5 separate regions of the Homo sapiens genome follow, and regions 2, 3, 4 and 5 are each linked to region 1. The links are contacts of gene promoters, found by promoter capture Hi-C in blood cells and fetal thymus (Javierre and others, 2016). All regions are on one chromosome and are shown on one strand. The core of a region is centred on a gene start or on the middle of the fragment in contact, and the rest is flanking DNA. Distances in the headings are between cores, read along the strand shown. Region 1 holds the start of SEPTIN4-AS1 (SEPTIN4 antisense RNA 1). Region 2 overlaps TRIM37 (tripartite motif containing 37). Region 3 has its middle 110 kb from the start of TRIM37. Region 4 overlaps PPM1E (protein phosphatase, Mg2+/Mn2+ dependent 1E). Region 5 overlaps PPM1E (protein phosphatase, Mg2+/Mn2+ dependent 1E).

What was found. The method cuts DNA at HindIII sites, captures the fragments that hold promoters and counts their contacts. A CHiCAGO score of 5 or more calls a contact.
Region 2: a fragment that was not itself captured here is called in contact with the fragment with the promoter of SEPTIN4-AS1 in region 1 in 6 of 17 cell types (M0 macrophages, M1 macrophages, activated CD4 T cells and 3 more); the score reaches 7.0 in M0 macrophages.
Region 3: a fragment that was not itself captured here is called in contact with the fragment with the promoter of SEPTIN4-AS1 in region 1 in 6 of 17 cell types (non-activated CD4 T cells, naive CD4 T cells, total CD8 T cells and 3 more); the score reaches 7.3 in non-activated CD4 T cells.
Region 4: a contact is called between a fragment that was not itself captured here and the fragment with the promoter of SEPTIN4-AS1 in region 1, in 7 of 17 cell types (M0 macrophages, M2 macrophages, total CD8 T cells and 4 more). The highest score is 8.6, in M0 macrophages.
Region 5: a fragment that was not itself captured here is called in contact with the fragment with the promoter of SEPTIN4-AS1 in region 1 in 1 of 17 cell types (M0 macrophages); the score reaches 6.3 in M0 macrophages.

The regions. Positions count from the first base shown.
Region 1 is chr17:58,518,485-58,521,162 of GRCh38, reverse strand. It overlaps SEPTIN4-AS1 (SEPTIN4 antisense RNA 1), which reads right to left and starts at 1,326. Exons shown (of 5, transcript NR_110810.1): 1 at 1,186-1,326. It overlaps SEPTIN4 (septin 4), which reads left to right. Exons shown (of 14, transcript NM_001368771.2): 12 at 3-165; 13 at 321-420; 14 at 678-907. The coding sequence ends at 737. It also overlaps a transcript of MTMR4 not described here. RefSeq lists enhancers at 2,575-2,674, 2,022-2,678. The HindIII fragment of the contact is 4,387 bases long and covers 399-2,678 here.
Region 2 is chr17:59,028,546-59,031,223 of GRCh38, reverse strand. TRIM37 (tripartite motif containing 37) reads left to right here. Exons shown (of 24, transcript NM_015294.6): 19 at 2,501-2,678. Among named protein-coding and RNA genes, the nearest start is that of TRIM37, 77 kb to the left of the region's middle. The HindIII fragment of the contact is 6,930 bases long and covers 1-2,678 here.
Region 3 is chr17:58,991,497-58,994,174 of GRCh38, reverse strand. It overlaps a transcript of TRIM37 not described here. Among named protein-coding and RNA genes, the nearest start is that of TRIM37, 110 kb to the left of the region's middle. RefSeq lists a silencer at 478-678. The HindIII fragment of the contact is 953 bases long and covers 844-1,796 here.
Region 4 is chr17:58,969,465-58,972,142 of GRCh38, reverse strand. PPM1E (protein phosphatase, Mg2+/Mn2+ dependent 1E) reads right to left here. Exons shown (of 7, transcript NM_014906.5): 4 at 2,416-2,604; 5 at 1-11. It also overlaps a transcript of TRIM37 not described here. Among named protein-coding and RNA genes, the nearest start is that of TRIM37, 140 kb to the left of the region's middle. The HindIII fragment of the contact is 2,496 bases long and covers 95-2,590 here.
Region 5 is chr17:58,949,514-58,952,191 of GRCh38, reverse strand. All of the region lies in intron 1 of PPM1E (protein phosphatase, Mg2+/Mn2+ dependent 1E), which reads right to left. Among named protein-coding and RNA genes, the nearest start is that of TRIM37, 160 kb to the left of the region's middle. The HindIII fragment of the contact is 4,948 bases long and covers 1-2,678 here.

The sequences.
Region 1 (2,678 bases), core at 77-2,576:
AGTGGAAAACCCAGGGCACTGCGACTTTGTGAAGCTGAGGACAATGCTGGTACGTACCCACATGCAGGACCTGAAGGATGTGACACGGGAGACACATTATGAGAACTACCGGGCACAGTGCATCCAGAGCATGACCCGCCTGGTGGTGAAGGAACGGAATCGCAAGTATGACCAGAAGCCAGGACAAAGCTGGCAGGGGGAGATCCCAAGCCTAGCCTTGGGTGAGACCAAGCCCTACTTTTGTTCTTCTATAGGCCCTGGGCTCAATCTAAGCGGGTGCTGGGGTCCTCCTCGCCTTATCAACCCTTTTCTCCCTTTAGCAAACTGACTCGGGAAAGTGGTACCGACTTCCCCATCCCTGCTGTCCCACCAGGGACAGATCCAGAAACTGAGAAGCTTATCCGAGAGAAAGATGAGGAGGTGAGAGCAGTATGGGGTATAGGGGAGGTCTCCTGTTTGATCACCAACGTTGGTATCTCTTTGTTTGGTAATAGAAAGATCCCTGGCTCTGGTGCATATTTGGGTCCTGGATAGGTCAATAGGTGGTTCTGTCCAGAGTCTCCATCACACCTCACGGCTACCAAGGTTCTGGCTTAAGGGATTAGAAATTTGGGGCACTTTCCCAATACTAAAGGACTCTCCAAAAGTCCCCATTTTGATGCCTGTGCCTATTCCAGCTGCGGCGGATGCAGGAGATGCTACACAAAATACAAAAACAGATGAAGGAGAACTATTAACTGGCTTTCAGCCCTGGATATTTAAATCTCCTCCTCTTCTTCCTGTCCATGCCGGCCCCTCCCAGCACCAGCTCTGCTCAGGCCCCTTCAGCTACTGCCACTTCGCCTTACATCCCTGCTGACTGCCCAGAGACTCAGAGGAAATAAAGTTTAATAAATCTGTAGGTGGCTTCTGGTGTCCCTGTGTGTATTTTTATGACCTGGAGATCAAGATCCTGGGACCCAGTTTTGAAAGGCTAATGGTAGAAGATGTTGGTTTCTGGCTTTTAGTAGGGAAGGGAGAGTGGGGAAAACTTTCCACTTCCTTTCCCCTTCTAAGTCCCTGCTTAGAATCCAGCCTGGCTTCTCCATCTTGACGATCATATCTATCATGCCTCTGTTATCTGGGGTCTGGGTCTCTCTCCATCTTTCACACATACAGTACCTTTGGTAATAAAAAGATTCCTACCTGTGGTGCATATTTGGGTCCTGGATAGGTCAACAGGTGGTTCTGTCCAGAGTCTCCCATCACACCTCAGGGCTACCAAGGTCCTGGCTTAAGGGATTAGAAATTTGGGGCACTTCTCCTGGCTAAGGAGAAAGTGAAACCCTGTCTCTACTAAAAATACAAAATAGCCGGGCGTGGTGGCGGGCGCCTGTAGTCCCAGCTACTCGGGAGGCTGAGGCAGGAGAATGGCTGAACCCGGGAGGCGGAGCTTGAAGTGAGCTGAGATGGCGCCACTGCACTCCAGCCTGGGTGACAGGGCGAGACTCCGTCTCAAAAAAAAAAAAGAAAAATAAAAAGAAAAAGAAATTTGGGGCACTTCCCCAATATTAAAGGACTGTCCAAAAGTCCCCCCTGCCCTTTTTTTTTTTGAGGCGGAGTCTCGCTCTGTCGCCCAGGCTGGAGTGCAACGGCGCTATCTCGGCTCACTGCAAGCTCCGTAGCTGGGACTACAAGACTCCGTAGCTGGGACTACAGGCGCCCGCCACCACGCCCGACTAATTTTTTGTATTTTTAGTAGAGACGGGGTTTCACCGTGTTAGCCAGGATGACCTCGATCTCCTGACCTTGAGATCCGCCCGCCTCGGCCCCCCAAGGTGCTGGGATTACAGGCATGAGCCACCGCGCCCGGCCCAAAAGGCCCCATTTTGATGCCTGTGCGTATTCCAGCTGCGGCGGACGCAGTTTTGTATTTGATACCTGCCCTTGGGAAAACACAAGGTATTAACTGCGTGCAACCTCCTGACTTTCTGTTTCCCCTGATCTGGGAAAAGGGATAGGCAGGTTAAGCTCTACACTGTAGAAAGCCTGTGATAGAGCTTTGAACAAATGCTGCAGCCATTGTAATCACCAAACACTATAGTAAGTGCTGGGAATGAATAAAAACACAATCACCGTCCTACAGGAGTTCAGTATTTAATTAAAAAATTTACAGCATCTGCTAGATTGCAGGCTGTTCTAGACCCTGGAGTTCAAGTAGTGCAAAGTTCCTGTCTTCCTGGAACTTACCAACAGTACTGGAGTTTCAACGTTCTATAAACAAAGATGGGTGAGGACATTAGCCCCGGGCTAATTAAAGCGCTCAGGCCCGCTCCAGACCTGAGAATATCAGCTGAATCTGAATCAACTGTTCTCCATTTCTGTCGGTTGGTGGTATCGCGGGGCCACGGCGACCTCCAGCGGCCACCCTCCGTCTTGTGGTCTGTTCTGGGTCCCCGGGAAGGAAAGGGAGGGGCGATAAGCCGGGTCCTTGGGAGCGTCCTGGTCTCCCTTCGCTTTACAGACTAGGAGGCCGCAGCTAGCTGGCAGTCTCAGATCCAGGTTTCCCATCTCTGGGATGAGAGGAGAGTTCTTCACTCAGGACTGCCAGCGCAATGCAGGTCGTGAAGAACTGCAGGGTCGTTTATCGATACAAAGTGAGTGTTGGAGGAACCCATCAAGACACAGGAAGGGGGAAA
Region 2 (2,678 bases), core at 179-2,678, 510 kb before region 1:
TATATACATCAAATCAATGATTTAGAACTCTGATTTTGATGTAGTTTTAAGGCAAGATAACTCATTTTTCAATCAAAGTCCAAGGCAGAACCTCTGTGTAAATAACAGAGAAATAGAGCTCTTCTACTGGTGTAGGGACATGGAGCCCAGATTATTTAGGCTTCTTCTTTCCTAAGAGCCAGATATACTTCCTGAAAGTCTGGATCCTCAGCTTAAAAGACTATCTTCAGGTTATGAAACAGTTGCCTTTTATGTGTGCGCCAAGTATGCTTTATATAAAGTTTTACTTAAATGTTAAGTGTTGTTTGCAAAGGCCCAGTGAAACAGACAGGTTCTGATTCTGTAGGTAGATATGTAAGTTGGTTTAACCTTTTTGAAGGACAATTTTGTAGTAGTTTAAAAATATCTATATCCTTTAAACTTGTAATTTCACTTTGAGGAGTATATTCCAAAGAGAAAACAAGCAGATGTTTAAAAATATTCAACAATACAGTTATAGCTGAATAAATTACAGTGTAACCATGCAATGGTATATTTTATAGACAAGTAAAATCGTGTTTTTGAAAATAATCAGTATCATTGGGAAAAATGCAAACTAAATAGTAAGATTTCTGTGTAAAACTAGTTTTCTGTGTAAAAACAATACAAATGAGATGATCTGAATTTCAAATTTAGGTGATAAAATGCTGGCAATAATGAGGGCGGGGAAAATAGTAGAAAGAAAAAGCAAGTTTTGGATTTAAACATCTTGAGTTGGGCATAACAGTGTGACATCAAATTAGAAAGGACCAGTAGACAGCTAAAAATTAAGAACTGGGGCTGGGCGCAGTGGCTCACGCCTGTAATCTCAACACTTGGGGAGGCTGAGGCGGGTGGATCACCTGAGGTCAGGAGTTCGAGACCAGCCTAGCCAACATGGTGAAACCCTGTCTCTACTAAAAATACAAAAAATTAGCCGGCCATTGTGGCAGGTGCCTGTAATCCCAGCTACCTGGGAAGCTGAGGCAGGAGAATGGCTTAAACCTGGGAGTCGGAGGTTGCAGTGAGCCGAGATCGTGCCATTGCACTCCAGCCTGGGCAACGAGTGAAACTCCATGAAAAAAAAAAATGAACTGGAATACAGACAGTTATTTTTCTGGAGGTGATACTGGATAATTAAAACCAAGGGTGTGAGATTGCAAAGGAGTTTTAAGAATATTTTAAAAGAAGAGAGCCAGGAACATAATCCTGATGAATATCTGTTTTTACTGAGTGTCAGGAAGATGAGCCAGATAAAGAGCTTTTAGAAAGGAGAAAAAATACTCATGGAAGCCAAATGAAAATACCTTTCAGTGAAGGGATGTTAATAAAAGCTAGTGTGCAGAAATATATGACTTTCTTTTTATTGAAAAGGCTTGCTTGGGTCATTTTTTGTTTGATTGATTGTTTGTTTGTTTTTGAGACAGAGTCTCACTCTGTTGCCCAGGCTGGAGTGCTCTACAATTTTTTGTAGAGACAGGTTTCACCATGTTGGCCAGGTTTGTCTCAAAACTCCTGAGCTCAAGTGATCCACCTGCCTCGGCCTCCCAAAGTGTGCTGGGATTATAGGCGTGAGCCACTGCACGTGGCCTGCTTGGGCTTTGATGTTTATTTTTTTCTGTGTATTTATTTAACACATATTTAGTGAACATTTGTCAGATTAACTTCATGTTCTTAACCATGTAAAGGAGTACTGTAAAAGGTATCAGGTAATCTAGTTGAACCAGATTTTAAGGTACATATAGTGGTAAGTAGAACTAGAGTCATGTTGGGTCCATTCTATGAAAGGACTTGCATGCTAGCCGGAGGAATTTATTCATACTAGGCATGGAGAGCTATTGTTTTATTTTAGAAGTGGTTAGATTCAAACCGTATTTCAGAAAGCTGACAGTTCTGAGAAAATTATCAGAAATGGAAGTTCTAATAAAAAAATTTTTTTTTGTACAGATAGGGTGTCACTATGCTCCCCTGGCTGATCTTGAACTTCTGGCCTCAAGCGATTCTCTCACCTCAGCCTCCTGAAGTGCTGGGATTACAGGCATAAGCCACTGCACCTGGCCAGAAATATGTATTTTTAATATAATGTTATATATGGCAGATTTGACAAAGTATTTGGTTTCTAGATTTTTCTTTGTCTTTTTTTTCAATTATAAACATAATAAAAGCTCTGTAGAAAGTTTCAGAAAAGTGGAGAAGTTTAAAGAAGAAAGCACAAGGCAGTAGGGCAGCTTTTAAACTTTTAGAATTAAATGTGTAATTCGAACTTGAGTATGATGTGACTCAGATTCTAACTCTGAAGGTGTGAATAAGGTAGGATTCTTTATCTTTATTTTCATTAATGGAATTTAGTGCATGTTTTATTGTTGATACCACGTAAAGCACGCTAGCTTATTTTACACATCAAATTTGCATATATTCATGGTACAAATGATTTCATTAATATTAACGTTTATGTTAACATGACTTGTCAATTTCTCTGAAGCATCATATTCTCGAAAAGATAAAGACCAAAGGAAGCAACAGGCAATGTGGCGAGTGCCCTCTGATTTAAAGATGCTAAAAAGACTCAAAACTCAAATGGCCGAAGTTCGATGTATGAAAACTGATGTAAAGAATACACTTTCAGAAATAAAAAGCAGCAGTGCTGCTTCTGGAGACAT
Region 3 (2,678 bases), core at 71-2,570, 470 kb before region 1:
CTCCAGAGGCCTCATTCTGGCCTTCCCTCTTATTTATAATGCCTTTCTCTGACAGAAGCCTAGCTCTCATTAGCTACAATATATGTATGTACTTGTTCAACCCTAATATACAAGTAGCTTCAGAACCGTTGGCCTCCTGTGGATTCCAGGCTATGCCCTACAAAAAACAGATTTACCACCTAAAATACAGTGCTTGTATACAGTTCTTTTAGTCTTTAGCTTTTCAGTATTGTGTCATAACATTTTTTTCAAAGATATTTAGGTTCAAAATTACATTAGTTCTGTTCTTTCACAAAATCCCTTCATTGTGATTTTGTGCTTCGTTGGTGTAACAGGTTCATCTGTTATGGTCTACATTCTGTCCTCCCCCACATATCCTGGTTAATTTGTAAATTTACATACATTAAAATTCAGTCTTTCTGGCATACAGTTCTGTGGGTTTCAACAAATGTCTTGTATCCGCCACCACAATACTATACAGAACATTTCAGTCACCCCCAAGATTCCCCTGTGCTGGCCCTTTATAGGTAACCACCCCCCTTCCCCACAGCTCCTGGCTACCGCTGATCTGATCTGATCTGATCTGTTCTCTGCCCTTTTAGTTTTTGCTTTTCCAGAGTCATGTAAACGGGATCACAGTTTGACCTCTCGCTTCGCAAAGTGCAGTTAAGTTTCACTCATCTTGTGTGAATCAGCACCTCCTTCTTTTTTATTGCTGAGCAGTAGTAGTCCACTGTGTGGATATACCACTGTTCATTCATTTGCCCATTTGGGTTATTTCTAGTTTAGGGTGATTAGACTCTTGTAAACGTTTGGGTACAGATTTTTGTGTGAGTGTAAGCTTTTATTCTCTAGAGTGTTACATGCTGTATTAGTCTGTTTTCATGCTGCTGATAAAGATATACCCGAGACTGGGCATTTTACAAAAGAAAGAGGTTTATTGGACTTACAGTTCCACGTGGCTGGGGAGGCCTCACAATCATGGCAAAAGGTAAAAGGCACATCTCATGTGGTGGCAGACGAGAGCTTGTGCAGGGAAACTCCCCCTTATAAAACCATCAGATCTCATGAGGCTTATTCAGTATTACAAAAACAGCACAGGAAAGTCTTGCCCCCATGATTCAATTACCTCCCACTGGGTCCCTCCCATGATATGTGGGAATTCAAGATGAGATTTGGGTGGGGACACAGCCAAACCATATATGCCTAGGGACAGGATTGCTGGGTGTGCAATAGAGAATTTGTCTGGCCTTTGTCCTAGTTCCTGGGAAGTGCCCTCTAAATCCTTGGCATTCCTCAAGTGTTAGGAGTTATTTATGGTGGGCCTTGCTAGTGTATGCTAATGAGATGACTCAGGATCGGGGCTGGCTACACCAGAAATGCTGTGGGTGTCATTAGACAGTTGGAGCTCTGAACCATGTGATAGCCCAGTTCAACTCATTGCCAATGATTGTTATGCCTACATAAGGAAGTTCCAGTAAAAAATCTGGACACCTGCCGGGCACAGTGGCTCACGCCTGTAATCCCAGCACTTTGGGAGGCCGAGGAAGGCAGATTACCTGAGGTCGGGAGTTCGAGACCAGCCTGACCAACATGGAGAAACCCTATCTTTACTAAAAATACAAAACTAGCCAGGCGTGGTGGCGCATGCCTGTAATCCCAACTACTTGGGAGACTGAGGCAGAAGAATCACTTGAACCCGGGAGGTGGAGGTTGCCGTGAACCAAGATTGTGCCATCGCACTCCAGCCTGGGCAAAAAGAGTGAAACTCCGTCTCAAAACTGGACACTAAAGCTTGAGTGAGTTTCCCTGGTTGACAGTACTCTGTATTTATATATATATATATATATATTTACATATGTATTTATATATATATAAATATATATAAATATAAATATATATATATTTATATTTATATATATATATATCAGTGTGCCTGGAGAGTAAGTTGTCCTGAAGTCAAGGGGCCTTCACATTTGGGCCTCTCCCAGGCCTCACCCTATGTATCTCTCCCTTTAGCTGGCTTTATTTGTAACCTTTTGTCATAATGAAACTCTGATCATAAGTGCATTTCTGAGTTCTGTGAGTTGTTCTAGTCAATTATTAAACATGAGTAGGATAGCAAATACGCCCAAATTTGTAATCAGCTGATCAGAAGTGAGGGTGGCCTCAGGATCCCGGAACTTGGAGCTTGTGTCTGGAATGAGGGCAGTCTTGTGGAAGACTTTGCCCATAACCTGTACAGTTTGACCTAACTCCGGGTGGTTGGTGTCAGCACTCATTGCACTGAGTCATATGGTAAGTAGAGTCTTTACTGAGACGCTGCCCAACCTCCACAGTGACATACCATTCTGCATTCCCATCAGTAGCACATGAGAGTTCCAGTGGCATCTCACAAATATTTGGCACTGCCAGAAGTTTTTTAGCCATTCTTTTTGGTTTTTCTTCTAACCAACTGAGCTAACCAGCCATTTTTTAGCCATTCTAATAGGTGTGTAATGGTATTTGTTTTGCTAATATTTTGCCAGAACTTTTCCATCTATATTCAGAGCGATCCTGGTCTGAAATTTTCTGTCGTCATCTGATTTGGTGTCAGAGTAATGCTGACCTCATAAAATGAGTGTTCTATTTTCTGGAAAAGAGGGTGTAGAATTGGTGGTATTTATTTATTATTACTT
Region 4 (2,678 bases), core at 93-2,592, 450 kb before region 1:
CATCTTAAGCTCTGAAAACAGTTTAAATAAAACTAGACTCAGTGAAAAGAAATAGATACTACATTCTTATTGAGAAGCAATTTATAATTAAGCTTTTCAGCTGGGAGCTATACTATTAATAATGGAATTTCACACATATATAATAATTCATTGTCTCAATGCATTTGTATATGCATGTATGTATTTATGTGTATATACACACATAAGTCCACCTGATCTGTGATATGCAGGGCGAGGATGATTATTAATTCCACTTTAAATATAGATAAGAAAACTATGGCAGGTTATGTGACTTGCCCAAGGGCAGGTAACTATTAGTATATAAGACAGAATTGAAATTCTTTTTCCTCCCAGTCAAGCACTAAATCCTCTATACCAATCCTCAGAGTAAAAATTTCTATATTCTGCTCTCCATTTCATTACTGACATCGTATTTGTTCAGTGGGAGAGTCCTAGCTGTATAAAATGATATATAAAACATCTGATTGGTACACAACAGATGCTCTAATCTCTGGAAATTAAGCTAAGGGGCCAAGAGACAGCTTACGTTCCCTGGAGTACTAAGATGCTTATACCTTTAAAAAAATATCCTTCCTACAGTATTTTTAGGGGTCTTTGCTTTTGGAACATTGCATAAAGAACTAACAGCCTGGAATTTCACTGCAGTAGCTACGACTGTACTTAAAGCTCTTGGTCCTACTATACGAAAATGACATCCCCATTTGACATGAGTCACCACCAAATGAGCATGACTTTCTGTTACTAAGGACCTGGCCTAAATTAGAACCAATGCGTCAGGGGTGGTAAAAGGTCTCTTGTATCCAATGAGAAAAACAACTTCTCGTTTTCCCTATATAGGGAAAGTTTGTTATAAATCCTCACCCACCAATAAAATGTCTTCCCACACAGAATGTTCAAAAACTCAGCCCCCTAGAACACATGATAAACACACTTCAGTGCATATGCCCTGGAGAGAACAGGAGGCAGGGCTGCTTCATAACAGGAATAGCTGTTTTCTTCCCAGCAGTTAGCAGCACATGGAAGCATAAGAAGGAGAAAAGGGGCGCTGAGACAAACCTAAATTATTCAGAACTATTGGCAGAACTGAGAGACACCAGGGTCACTGACAAAACAAATGAGGTAAACATGGTCAGAAAACAACAACAACAACAACAACACATAATTTTGAGAAGACAGAGGAAAAAAAGAATAGAATAGAGGATGAAGAAGACAGAGTGAATCTCTTTGTTTCACATTGATGATTACGGGTCACCTCTCAGGGGCCGGCCCTTGTCCTCGACTCAGATGATAAAAGCCCACAGCTTCAAGAGAGGCAGAGCCAAGCAGAATGCAGGTCCTCAAGAGACTGGAGCTCTGAGGTCAAGAGTGGCTTTATTCTCCAGACCCACCTCTTTGTGTGGACTCTACTGGTTACTGTTGGATTTGCATATTAATCCAAACTTAGGGGAGGGGAGAGATGAAGAATAATTCTCTTTCTTAATACCAAATAGGTCTGAGTTATTGTTTCATTAATTCTAAGCCCCATTATTGCTTGTAGCATAACTATGCTATCAAAAAATGGATTAAATGATTACCCTGATCTCTCCAAGCCCATTTTAAAAAGAGTTAATGTTTAAGTCACAGGGCAGGAGTCTTATTTTTTGTCTGTATCTACTTCTGTAATTATTTTTAAAAATTAAAAATTCTTTTATTCGTCCCCAGTTAAAAATCCAATATAGAACACTGTAGTTAATTATGTACCAATACCCAGAACGATAATTAGATTAATTTTTTTACTTTTAGACCTTAATATAGAGCCCTTGCCATTTATTCAAAGTAAAAAAAACTTAGGTCTGATTAACCTTCGCAATGTAGGACATGAGCTCTTCTTTTCTCCCTATTAAGAGAAAAATCAGCTCAAGGATCATTTAAGGATTCACCCTCTCCAAGCGAATTTTCCCTCAAGAGATACACAGCAAAACACTGCCTACCCATTTAGAACCAAATGTATGGAAGTAATCCCAGTTTCTGTTTCTTTTTTAGACCATTGTTTTATTCACCATATCCAGATCTTGTCAGCAAGAGTCTGCTTAGAGAGATGGTCCTGGTGTGAACCTGACAGGCAATGGTGAATAAAAGAAAGATGAAACTCACCTGCCAAATCCAGCAGTTATTACAGAAATGAATCCAGAAAATTACAGCTTGAGATTTTCTATACAGTACCTCATTGTACCCCCTGAAACTCTTCCTGAGGAGGGAATTGGAACTACAACAGAATCCAATACTGTGAGTCAAGAATACAGTTTGGATAATGTCTGCCCAGAAAGAGAAAATCTAAATAGCCCTTTAACCACACAGACCAAATTGAGCTCAGCTAGTACATTTCTAGCTGGAACTTATGAGAAAGGGGCATACCTCCCTGGCTGCTTTCTGCACAAACCGCTCATCAGTGACCCGGAAGGCCCTGCACAGGGCCTCAGCAGGATCATGGGGGAACATCTCCTGGCGGACTAAGTTAACGTGGAGGTGAATGGAGGCATAAATAGCAGCATCTACTCCCCCATGGCCATCAAACACTGCAAAGTAAGCTTGTTCTTCCTGGTCCTGTCAACAGAAACACAGAACAGTTATGGGAGTTGGGTATAGCATGATTCAAATGAACCAATCTCCTGGCATCA
Region 5 (2,678 bases), core at 77-2,576, 430 kb before region 1:
AACCCCAGTAAAGCTACATGACTTCTGCCATAAACTCTAACAGCCTAGGCCATTGGGATACTCACAAACATCACTAGTGCAGATTACAGCAAAAGAAACTACAACACTGTGTCCACCTAGAACCATAGCCAATGCAGCCATCCAACTGATGCCCCAAGACCCATCCACATGACTAAATCTTTCCCTATGAAAACTACTCCATAAGATTGGAAGAGGTGACTGTTCCACCAGATGTGTAGAAATCAACATAGGGACACATCAAATGTGAAAAATTGAGGAAACATGACTCCTCCAAATGCACACAATAATTTTCCAGGAACAAACCCCAATCGTAAGGAATATATAAAATGCCAGAAAAAGAATTCAAAATAATAATCTTTTCTTAAAAATTTGAGATGAAGGTCTCACGATACTGCATAGGCTGGAGTGCAGTGGCTATTCATAGGCATCCTACTGTTAATTGGCATATGTGTTTTGATCTGCTCCATTTATTTTTCTTTCTTTTTTTTTTTTTTTTTAAAGAGAGTCTCACTCTGTTGCCCAGGCTGGAATGCAGTGGTACAATCTTGGCTCACTGCAACCTCCACCTCCTGGGCTTAAGCAATCCTCCCACCTCAGCCCCCGCAAGTAGCTGGAACTACAGGCATGAGCCACCAGCCTAATTTTTGTATTTTTTGTAGAGACGAGGTTTCACCATGTTGCCCAGACTGGTCTCGAACTCCTAAGCTCAAGCAATTCACCCATCTCAGTCTCCCAAATTGCTGAAATTATAGGTGTGAGCCACCACACCTGGCTGACCTGCTCTATTTCTGACCTGAGCTGGTTCATCCCTCCCTAAGCAACCTGATGGTTCTCTGCTCCCAGAAGGTCACCATATTGATGCCAAACTTAGTGTAGACACCAGATTAGCATAATGCACTATAGGCCAGAACTCCTGGACTCAGGCAATCCTCCTGCTGCAGCCTCCCAAGGAGCCAGGACTATAGGCATGAGCCATCACATGTGGCTCAAAATAATCATGTTAAGGAAACGCAATGAGATACAAGAGAATACATATAGAACAGTTAACAAAAATCAGAGAAATTCAACAAAGAGATATCATTAAAAAAGAACCGGCCAGGTGTGGTGGCTCACGCCTGTAATCCCAGCACTTTGGGAGGCCGAGGCGGGCAGATCACGAGGTCAGGAGATCGAGACCATCCTGGCTAACACAGTGAAACCCCGTCTCTACTAAAAATACAAAAAATTAGCCAGGCATGGTGGCGGGCGCCTGTAGTCCCAGCTACTGGGGAGGCTGAGGCAGGAGAATGGCGTGAACCCAGGAGGCGGAGCTTGCAGTGAGCAGAGATCACGCCGCTGCACTCCAGCCTGGGTGACAGAGCAAGACTCCGTCTCAAAAAAAAAAAAAAAAAAAGAACCAAACAGGAATCTTAGAGCTGAAGAATTCAATGAATGAAATAAAAAATACAATAAAGAGCTTCAACAGCAGACTAGACCAAACAGAAGAAAAAATTTTTGAACTTGAAGACAGGTCTTTTGAAAAAACTCAGGCAGAAAAAAAAAGAAAGAAAAGAAAAAAGAATGAAAACAGCATATAGGATTTATGGGACACCATTAAGCAAACAAATAATTGCATTATGGGCATTCCAGAAGGAGAAGAAAAGAGAGATGGTGTAGAAAATATACTTAATGACATAATAACTGAAAACTTCGTAGGTCTTGGGAGAGACACAGATATTCAGATCCAGGAAGCTGGAAAGTTCCCACATAGATTCAACCCAAACAAGTCTTCTCTAAGGCACATTATAGTCAAAAAATAATTTTTTTTTTGAGACAGAGTTTCATTCTTGTAGCCCAGGCTGGAGTGCAATGGTGCAATTTTCGGCTCACTGCAACCTGTCTCCTGGGTTCAAGCAATTCTCCTGCCTCAGCCTCCTGAGTAGCTTGGATTACAGGCACCCGCCATCATGCCCAGCTAATTTTTGTATTTTTAGTAGAGACAGGGTTTCACCATGTTGGTCAGGCTGGTCTCAAACTCTCAACTTCAGGTGATCCACCTGCCTTGGCCTTCCAAAGTGCTGGGAATACAGGCATGAGCCACCACACCCAGCTGTCAAATTGTCAAAAGGTAAAGACAAAGAAATAATTCTAAAAGAGAATTCCTTTTCAAAAGAAAAGCATCAAGTCATATATAAGGGAATCTCCATTAGACTAGCAGCAGCTTTCTCAGCAGAAACTTCACAGGCCAGGAGAGAAAGGGATGATATAGTCAAAGTACAGAAAGAAAAAAAACTCAGCTAGCCAAGAATATTATACCCAGGAAAGCTATTCTTCAAAAATGAAGGAGAAATAAAATCTTTCCTGGACAAGCAAAAAATAAGAGAATTCATCACCACTAGTCTAGTCCAAGAGAAATGTTCAAGGGCGTCTTACATCTGGAAATAAAAAGATGATAACTGCCCTCATGAAGATATGTGAAATTATAAAATTCACCAGGAGAGCCAACAGAGAAAGAAGAAAGAGAAAGGAATAAATAATCTTATCACTACAGAAAACAACCCAACCACAAAAATAAATAATAGGAGGGGAAGGAACAAAGGTTACACAAAATACTCAGAAAACAGTCAATAAATGTCTGGAGTAAGTCCTCATCTATTAATAATAATCTTGAATGTAAA